2 separate regions of the Homo sapiens genome follow, and region 1 is linked to region 2. Evidence: promoter capture Hi-C in human tissues and cell types (Jung and others, 2019). All regions are on one chromosome and are shown on one strand. Each heading gives the region's core, a stretch centred on a gene start or on the middle of the fragment in contact. The rest is flanking DNA. Distances are from core to core; before and after follow the strand shown.

The links. Contacts are between HindIII fragments. The study calls those that stand out against the background at their distance.
Region 1: a contact is called between a fragment that was not itself captured here and the fragment with the promoter of PANK1 in region 2, in 1 of the 25 tissues and cell types used here (dorsolateral prefrontal cortex).

Annotation. Positions count from the first base shown.
Region 1 is chr10:89,282,592-89,286,661 of GRCh38, reverse strand. It overlaps LOC124902477 (a long non-coding RNA gene), which reads right to left and starts at 2,988. Exons shown (of 3, transcript XR_007062233.1): 1 at 2,771-2,988; 2 at 1,398-1,580. It also overlaps a transcript of LIPA not described here. The HindIII fragment of the contact is 7,397 bases long and covers 1-4,070 here.
Region 2 is chr10:89,643,081-89,647,298 of GRCh38, reverse strand. It overlaps PANK1 (pantothenate kinase 1), which reads left to right and starts at 2,057. Exons shown (of 7, transcript NM_148977.3): 1 at 2,057-2,699. The coding sequence starts at 2,408. It overlaps PANK1-AS1 (PANK1 antisense RNA 1), which reads right to left and starts at 3,185. Exons shown (of 5, transcript NR_184344.1): 1 at 3,100-3,185. RefSeq lists silencers at 2,054-2,533, 3,234-3,283. The HindIII fragment of the contact is 3,851 bases long and covers 1-3,189 here.

The DNA.
Region 1 (4,070 bases), core at 1,159-3,658, 360 kb after region 2:
AGGGTCTAGGGCTGTAAAGCATCTCAGGGTTGATGCCAAACAAGCCATGAACTGGGCTGGGTTTTTATATTTGATGAAAAAGAGCCTAAACGCTAACTGATTTGGGAGAGGTTGGATAAAGAAAAAGGAGCATTAACCTTGACTATGCCTTTAGCTCCAGCCACCTTTTTAAGAGGAAATTGCTGGGCAGGTCCGGGAGGGCTAGTCGCAGAACGAAACTGGAAGCTGGACTGGGTGTGAGGAGGGGAGGTGATAGAAGGATTATAGGGTGGGGGAGCGGAGGCTAAGGGAGAATTGGAACTGGCTCGGCCTGGCTAGGAGCAGCCTGGGGAGGAGGGGAGAGGTCAGATGGGTCCGTAGAAAAGGAAGATTGGAAAGACTTAGTGACACTTGGGGTTGGAACTGAGGGGACAGGCAGGAGGGAAAGAAGGAAGATTTGGGATGAGTTGCATTGGGAACAGAGATTAGGGAGGGACGAGGGACCGATGTGTAAAAGAATGCCTGGACGTCAGGCACCTCAGACCATTTGCCCATTTTTCGACAAAAATTATCTAGGTGTTGTAGGATGGAGAAATCAAAAGTGCCATTTTATGGCTCTTTGGAACCACTGTCGAGTTTGTATTGGGGTTAAGTGGCATTGCAGAAGAAAATAAGGCATTTGGGTTTTAAGTCGGGTGTGAGTTGAAGAGGTTTTAAGTTCTTGAGAACACAGGCTAAGGGAGAAGAAGGAGGAATGGAGGGTGGAAGTTTGCCTATAGTGAAGGAGGCAAGTCCAGAGAAAAGAGAGGGTAGAGACACAGAGAGAAGGGGTGGGGGGTTCTTGCACCCCAGGAACATGGGGAAGGGGTGGGGTGTTTGTCCCCCAGGGAAGTGGAGAGAAAAGAGAGGGTAGAGACACAGAGAGAAGGAGTGGGGGGTGCTTGCCCCCCAGGAAAGTGGAGAAGGGGTAGGGGGTCCTTGCCCCCCAGGAAAGTGGAGAGAAAAGAGAGGGTAGAGACATGGAGAGAAGGGGTTGGGTGAGCAGCCCTGGGCTGCAAATGTGGGTGAGCAGCCAAAGCAGGTGTCCCCACAATTGCCTTGCCACTAAGGGAATGTGGGTGAATGACCAAGGCAGGCATCCCCACGGTGATCAGACACCAATGAAATGTGGGTGAATAATCAGGCAGGCATCTCTGCAGTGATTAAACACCAAGGGAAGACTGTCTTCCCGAATCTGTGACCAGCACTGGAGTTTTGAGTCCACAGATAAAACACATCTCCCGTATCTCTACCAAAAAAGGAAAGGAATTGAAATTAAGAGAAGGGAAAGATTGAAGTGTGGTGCCGAGATTGAAAGGAGAAAGAGGTTGAGGGATAGTGAGAGAGATTGGAGAAGAGAGTAAAGACAGGCCACTTACCCGATTTAAAATTGGTGAGATGTTCCTTGGGCTGGTTGGTCTGAGGAGCAGAGGTCGTAGGTGGATCTTTCTCTTGGAACAAAGAGCAGGAGGACAGGGGATTGATCTCCCAAGGGAGGTTCCCCGATCCGAGTCACGGCACCAAATGTCACTCGCGTCCATGTGAAGAGACCACCAAACAGGCTTTGTGTGAGCAATAAAGCTTTTTAATCACCTGGGTGCAGGCGAGCTGAGTCCAAAAAGAGAGTCAGTGAAGGGAGATGGGATGGGCTGTTTTTATAAGATTTGGGTAGATAGTGGAAAATTACAGTCAAAGGCGGATGTTCTCTGGCTGGCAGGGGTGGGGGGCACAAGGTGCTCAGTGGGGGAGCTTTTGAGCCAGGAAGAGCTGGGAGAAGGAATTTCACAAGGTAATGTCATCAGTTAAGGCAGGGACAGGCCATTTTCACTTCTTTTGTGATTCTTCAGTTACTTCAGGTCATCCGGATTTATACGTGCAGGTCACAGGGTATATGATGGCTTAGCTTGGGCTCAGAGGCCTGACATATAGCGTATACAGGTGTACACAGAAGCATAATGTTTAAATATTTTAATTTCAGTGGGTGATATAAGGGGCAGTATGATTTTTTTTCGCTTATACTTGCTGGCATTTTTCCAAAGTTTCTTTAGTGTGCCTATAGTATTCATATCCTGAGAAAAATCTTTCATGATTCTAATCTTTTTATTATTATTATTTTTTAAAGATCACTGAGAACTAAGAGCAAAATGCAAAGGGAGATCTTTTTGAGGTCTGATCAAGCCCAGCTTCACTGGAGGCTTTTAGGGGCCTCAGAGGTGTAGATGCTGGTTTAGTGCCTGACTGTGGCTCCTTAGAAAAGAACCAGCTAAATGCAGCCTGTCCTTTGCTAGAGCTGCCAATGCTGAGCTCTGACACAGAGAAACCCTGCCTCTATGATGAATATAGCCTCATGCTCCTGACTTTCAAATGAAAAACAGAAACACACATGCTTGTTAAGAACGTTTCAGCCTGGTTTGCATCATTAACTGATGAAAATGTGCCTGCAAGGACAGAATGAAATAGATTTGCCCCTCCTCCTCCAGCAACCCCTCCTATGAGGGACGTTCGTCTCTGGCTCCAGGCTCTGGCCACTTCCTGGTTAGGATTGCTAAAGGCTTCCATCAGGGAATGTTGATATGAGTCTGGAAGCGCCACAGATTTTAAAATGCCTGAATTAACAAGAAACAAGTATTCTCTAAGATATGTTAAATATTTAAGCAGATGCCCAAATCCAGCACCTAAGAAAATCTACCTTGAGGTTTTCAAAGGCACACAACATAATTTCAAGGGATAAATGCAAGAAAAAATCCTTTACCTCATGGTCGCAGGCTGGGCGCTGCACTGGTGTCCTGCAGTGTTCTGGCAAAGGCTGATTTGCTGCTTAGAAATCTGCCTGAGCTGATGGCAGATTCAGAGGAAAGGAAGCACTGTGCTGCTGATGAAGGATACCTTTATGTGTACTTGCAAATATGAAATGGAAGTGTATCCTGGCAAGTACAAACAACATAACTACACTGGTTTCCTGCTGGAGGGAAAGGAGATTTCAGCAGGGAGAGCTTTAATCTTTCTGGCTGGGCACTCAACTGGAACAACGTTTAGGGGGAATAGTGTGTAAGGAAGTTCAAGGTAGATGAAAATTTACTAGAAGGAGGATTAGCAATGTAGTGGTCAGAGAACCAGAAATCTAAAAATGACCACAGGACTAGGGTGGATTCCGGAGAACTGTTGTCATCACTAGCTAATATTAATAGTGACATCAGTAGCTAATGTTAAAAGAAAAACCTTAGACAAATTAAATTTAGTAGAGTTTAATTGAGCAAAGAATTATTCACCAATCAGGCAGACTTCCGAGCCAGAGTGGCCTCAGAGAGACTCCGGTGCAGCTGCCTGGTAGAAGATTTATGGACAGAAAAAGGAAAATGACCTATAAAAAACAGAAGTGAGGTACAGAAATGGAAGTGTTGGTTACAGCCCAGCATTTGCCTTATTTTAACATGGTTTGAATGGTTGGCCACCTTTGATTGGCCAAAACTGTGAGTGGCACAGGAGTAGGTTACAGTCTGTTTACACATCCAGTTAGGTTATAGTTTACTATGTACAGAAAAACTGTCAGGGTGAACTTAAAATATGCAAGGAGGCAGCTTTAAGTGAAACTTAATTCAACACTAATATTGATTGAGAATTTTTGCTCAGGGCTTTATAGGACTTACCTAATTTACTCCATTTTACACTCATGTGAAATATGGCCATTTAACAGATGAGTAAGAGAAGATTCAGAGAACTTAAGTGATATGCCCAAGGACAGAAGTCCAGGTCTGCCCAATTCTAGAACTTCCCTTGTTCAGTGTGTTCCTTAAGTGCAGCAAGTCTCTGGATCTAAACTATATAGTTTCTGATTTCAACTCTGAAATGCACTGCTTGTGTGAACTTGCATCCGTTCTTCATCTGTAAAGAGTGGTAGCACCTATTTCATAGGCTTGTTGTGAAGCTCTTAGAATAGTGCCTGGCACATAATGGATTCGATGAAAGTATCTGTTTTCTTTCTTTCTTTTTTTTTTATTTTTTTGAGACGGAGTTTCGCTCTTGTTACCCAGGCTGGAGTGCAATGGCACGAT
Region 2 (4,218 bases), core at 808-3,307:
CGGTCTTCCTAATTATTTACAAGGAAAAAAGGCAAGCCCAGGCATGGTGGCTCATTCCTATAATTCCAATACTTTGGGAGGCCAAGGTGGGAGGATCGCTTGAGCCCAGGAGTTGGAGGCTACAGTAAGCTACGACTGTGCCACTGCACTCCAGCCTGGGTGAAGGAGTGAGACCTTGTCTTAAAAAAAAAAAAAAAAAAAGCAGAAGTTGTAGCTGCATAGCCACATTTCTCTCAAGTCTCACAAAAAAGTTCCAATAGCTTGAAGTTTGAATTAATTTTACGCATGTGTTATGCATTTCATCAGTCTAACAACTCAGTGATGTCCTATTATTCTCAAGTTACAAATGAGGGAACAGATGCATGGTATAGTTACAAAATGATAAGGAGTCATAAACAGAGTACAAGGAGTAGGAAGAGGGTATGGCAGGGAGACCTAATGTAGCCCTAAGGGTCAGGGAACATTTCTCTAAATATGAGAAGTTAAAGAGGAGATCTAAAGTTGGAGTCTAGTAGACAAAAGAGGTCTTAGAGAAGAGACTTCTCTAAGGCAATGGAAACAGCAGAATGTTGTTTAAGGAATTGAAGGCAGCACAGGGAGCCCCTGATGAGGCAGGAGAGGTAGGGAGGGGCCAGATCACCTGGGTTTTTTTCTCTGTCTTTAAATAGCATAAGGTTAGGGAAGCTAAGAGAGTTGAGATTTGGAGTTTAGTCCCACCTTTGCTCTTAATAACCTCAGCCATCTGTCTGCAGCTCAGTTTCCTGATACGAAAAAAGTATGCAAGAGTGGATAGACCAGAGTGCTCCAGTGGCCCCCATGGTTCTCAAGCTCTGATTCTAGGTAAGGCTCTGCTGGAAGGAATTGCCAGATGCAAGCCCTAGATGCTGCTGAATGCACTGAAGCCCAGGGGCCCAGCAACCCAGTAGCCAGCCAGCACCTGCCAGACTCTGACTCCTCTGTAGATTAATTGCAAATCACGGAGAATATCACAAAATAAATCACACAATAAATACGGCTGTAAGCATGGTTTGTTCCCCTGTCGAAACAAAGGGTGAACTGCTAATCATAATAGCGTAATAAGGAAAACTAGCTTTCTGAGCATTTACTGTGTGCCAGGATTGTACCAGGTACTTTTAGTAGATTTTCTCACAACAGCCCCATTATGGATAGGAAAGTGAGGCCTCAAGAGATTGCATAACTTTGGGAAGGTATTCACCACCCAAATTAGTCCTGCATAGTGAGCATGGACAGTCCCGTTTCCTATTGCTAGAAGTGTTACCTTGAGCATTAACGTTATCTGGGTTTGCTCAGTGGCTGAGTTGGAATTTGAACCCAGTGCTAACTCCAAAGCTCGTAGTGCTGGTCACCACGTGATGCCGCCTTCCCTTCTTAGAAGAGGCAACTCCTTACTCTATAAATAACATGACATTGTCTTTTGAAGTCCTTTCTGGGTGAGGAAAGTGCTTTTTATAGCATGGAATTGCTCCTGTTTACTTGATCTCTTTCAGCACCGATTAATCCTGCCTACAGTTTTGTCCTTCACTGTCCTTACACTGTATTCCTAGGTTTCCTCCCTGCAAAAGACAACTCCATGAGACCACATGGTGTTTGAGTGTGTGTGCGTGCCAGCAAAGAAATTTCACTCCCCTCCCTCCCCAAGTCTGCCAACTTTTCTATAAATAATTGTTCTCCCTCCCCTCAGGCCTCTAAGTAGTTTGGTCACTTAACCAAACGCACAGGCACACACGCGCGCGCGCGTAAGCACACACTCACAAAGCGGGGAGGGTAACGTGAATGACCTTGCAAAGGTATCTTGCTCACTGGGGACAGGATTAGCAAACCTGACACCTCTGCAAATAATTGTCTTCCTCCCGTATTCCTCCTGAAACGGTTCGCTCCTTTCGCTGTCTCTCCCAGACCCATCTGGTTTTCACATCGCCATACAAAGCCCAACCCGCCCATCTCCTCTCTGCAAGCCCAGAGAACTTGATTCCCCATGTTGAAACTCGTCGGTGGCGGTGGCGGGCAGGACTGGGCATGCTCAGTGGCGGGGACCAGTCTGGGAGGCGAGGAAGCCGCGTTTGAAGTCGCGCGGCCTGGGGATCAGGGGAAGGCGGGCGGCGGGAGCCCCGGCTGGGGGTGCGCGGGGATCCCCGATTCCGCGCCCGGGGCTGGCGTGCTCCAGGCCGGCGCCGTGGGGCCGGCGCGCGGGGGGCAGGGCGCAGAGGAGGTGGGGGAGTCGGCAGGAGGAGGGGAGGAGCGCCGGGTTCGCCATCCCCAGGCGCCGGCTCTGCGGCTGCTGAATCGGAAGCCGCAGGGAGGATCCGGGGAAATAAAGACGCCGGAGAATGACCTCCAGCGAGGCCGCCTGAGCCGGGGCCCGCGCACAGCCCCGCCAGCCCCCGGCATGGGCGACCGCAGCGGGCAGCAGGAGCGCTCGGTCCCGCACTCTCCAGGGGCCCCCGTGGGCACCAGCGCCGCCGCTGTGAACGGGCTGCTGCACAACGGCTTCCATCCGCCGCCAGTCCAGCCGCCGCACGTCTGCAGCCGGGGTCCAGTGGGCGGCAGCGACGCGGCGCCCCAGCGCCTCCCGCTCCTGCCGGAGCTGCAGCCGCAGCCACTGCTCCCTCAGCATGACTCCCCGGCCAAGAAATGCCGGCTGCGGAGGAGGATGGACTCGGGGAGAAAGAACAGGCCGCGTAAGTCCCGCTGGGAGGGGAGCGCGGGCGCAAGGCAGACGCAGCGTGCGGGGCCCGGGACTGGGAGCGGCTGAGGCAGGCGCCGCAGCACGCCCCGTGCGCCCCCGCGTCTGCGGTCGAGGGACTGCACAGAGTAGGTTCCCGGGACTGATTCTTTTCCTAGGGGACATCAAGCACTACAGGTCTTTGCCTGAGCCTGCCCTTTGCTCGCTTCTATCAGTAGAACGAGGATTGGACACGAAGCTTGAGCGGGTCCCTAGGTCAAGGATATATAATAAGCGAACGCTCTGTCCGCCCTTCTAATTGGTGGCTGGGAAAACGCAGGTGTGTGAACATTTGCTGGGGTCCAGGAGTGAGGATAAAGTGGGCGGCACACCGAGGGTGCTCTCTCCTTTCTCACCCCTCTCGCTTCTCTGAGCGCGTCCTACTGGGGTTGCCTGCCCTTTGAATCACAGAGTAGCCAGCAGCGTCTCGGGTCTATTGGAGAGCGCAAGTCTGGAGGCGTGGAGTTTAACTACCCCCCAAAATCACAGCCTATTAGAAGCTGTTTCTTCACGGCCAATGAGAGGGTTTTTTGGGAGGGACACACCCACTGATACCATGTGGGCCGGAACTATGTGGACCAATGAGGATTGGAGGTGGATTTTTTTTTTCAACGAAGGGGGAGGTTGAGTTGAGGGTTTGTAATTGTAATGTACACCGGAGAAAGCCGAAGTGCATTATTTCACAATCTAAAGCTTGTATATATAATGGTAGTTTGTAAAGTGTACCTTCCCCACAGGACGCTGTGGGATGTAAATTTGTAGGTCGAGTTTACAGCTGGTTTTTCTTGACTGAAGCTCATTCAACTGGTTACTTCTTTGTGGGTGTCTTTAATGAAGCTTATAAATGGCAAAAAGCAAAGTAAGTACAGTAAATGCTAATAAATGACTGCATTTGCATAGAGGTTATGCTGTTCGATATAGGGAAATTGTTAAGTAGGTTTTGGATTTCTGTGAAAGTTTAATGTTTGGCAAATAACACCTTCACTTTTCCCTGTTTCTATGTCTTTTTGACTCTTAGCTTTTCTGTATTGGATTAAGGTTTCTAAGACCTTGGAAAGCCCTTTGACATGACTGTGGGTGACTCTGGTACTTGTATTTTGTGGGTTTGAAATGTTAAATTTGTAGGTTAAGATTTTGTGTGGAACTTTAAAGCCAAACAGCAGATTTGGCTACAGTTGTAAGGTGTAAGGTTGTAATCTAGCACCTGAATTTTTATTTGCTTTTGTTTTTGATACTTGTTAGAAAATGACTTTCATTAGTATTAATATTTTAAAAGTCAGGACTTAATATTGATTACCTGTGATTTATAAACCTGTTTCACTTATTTTGAAGCTATACTTCAGTTATTTCTCTTATCTACATTGACAGATTGTACTAGAGTTTGCAATGAAAATAGCTAAAATATAATGAAAGGGAGCTTCTAGCTTAATCTTCTATGTTTAATTGAGGATATAACACCTCTTGAAATAACTTCT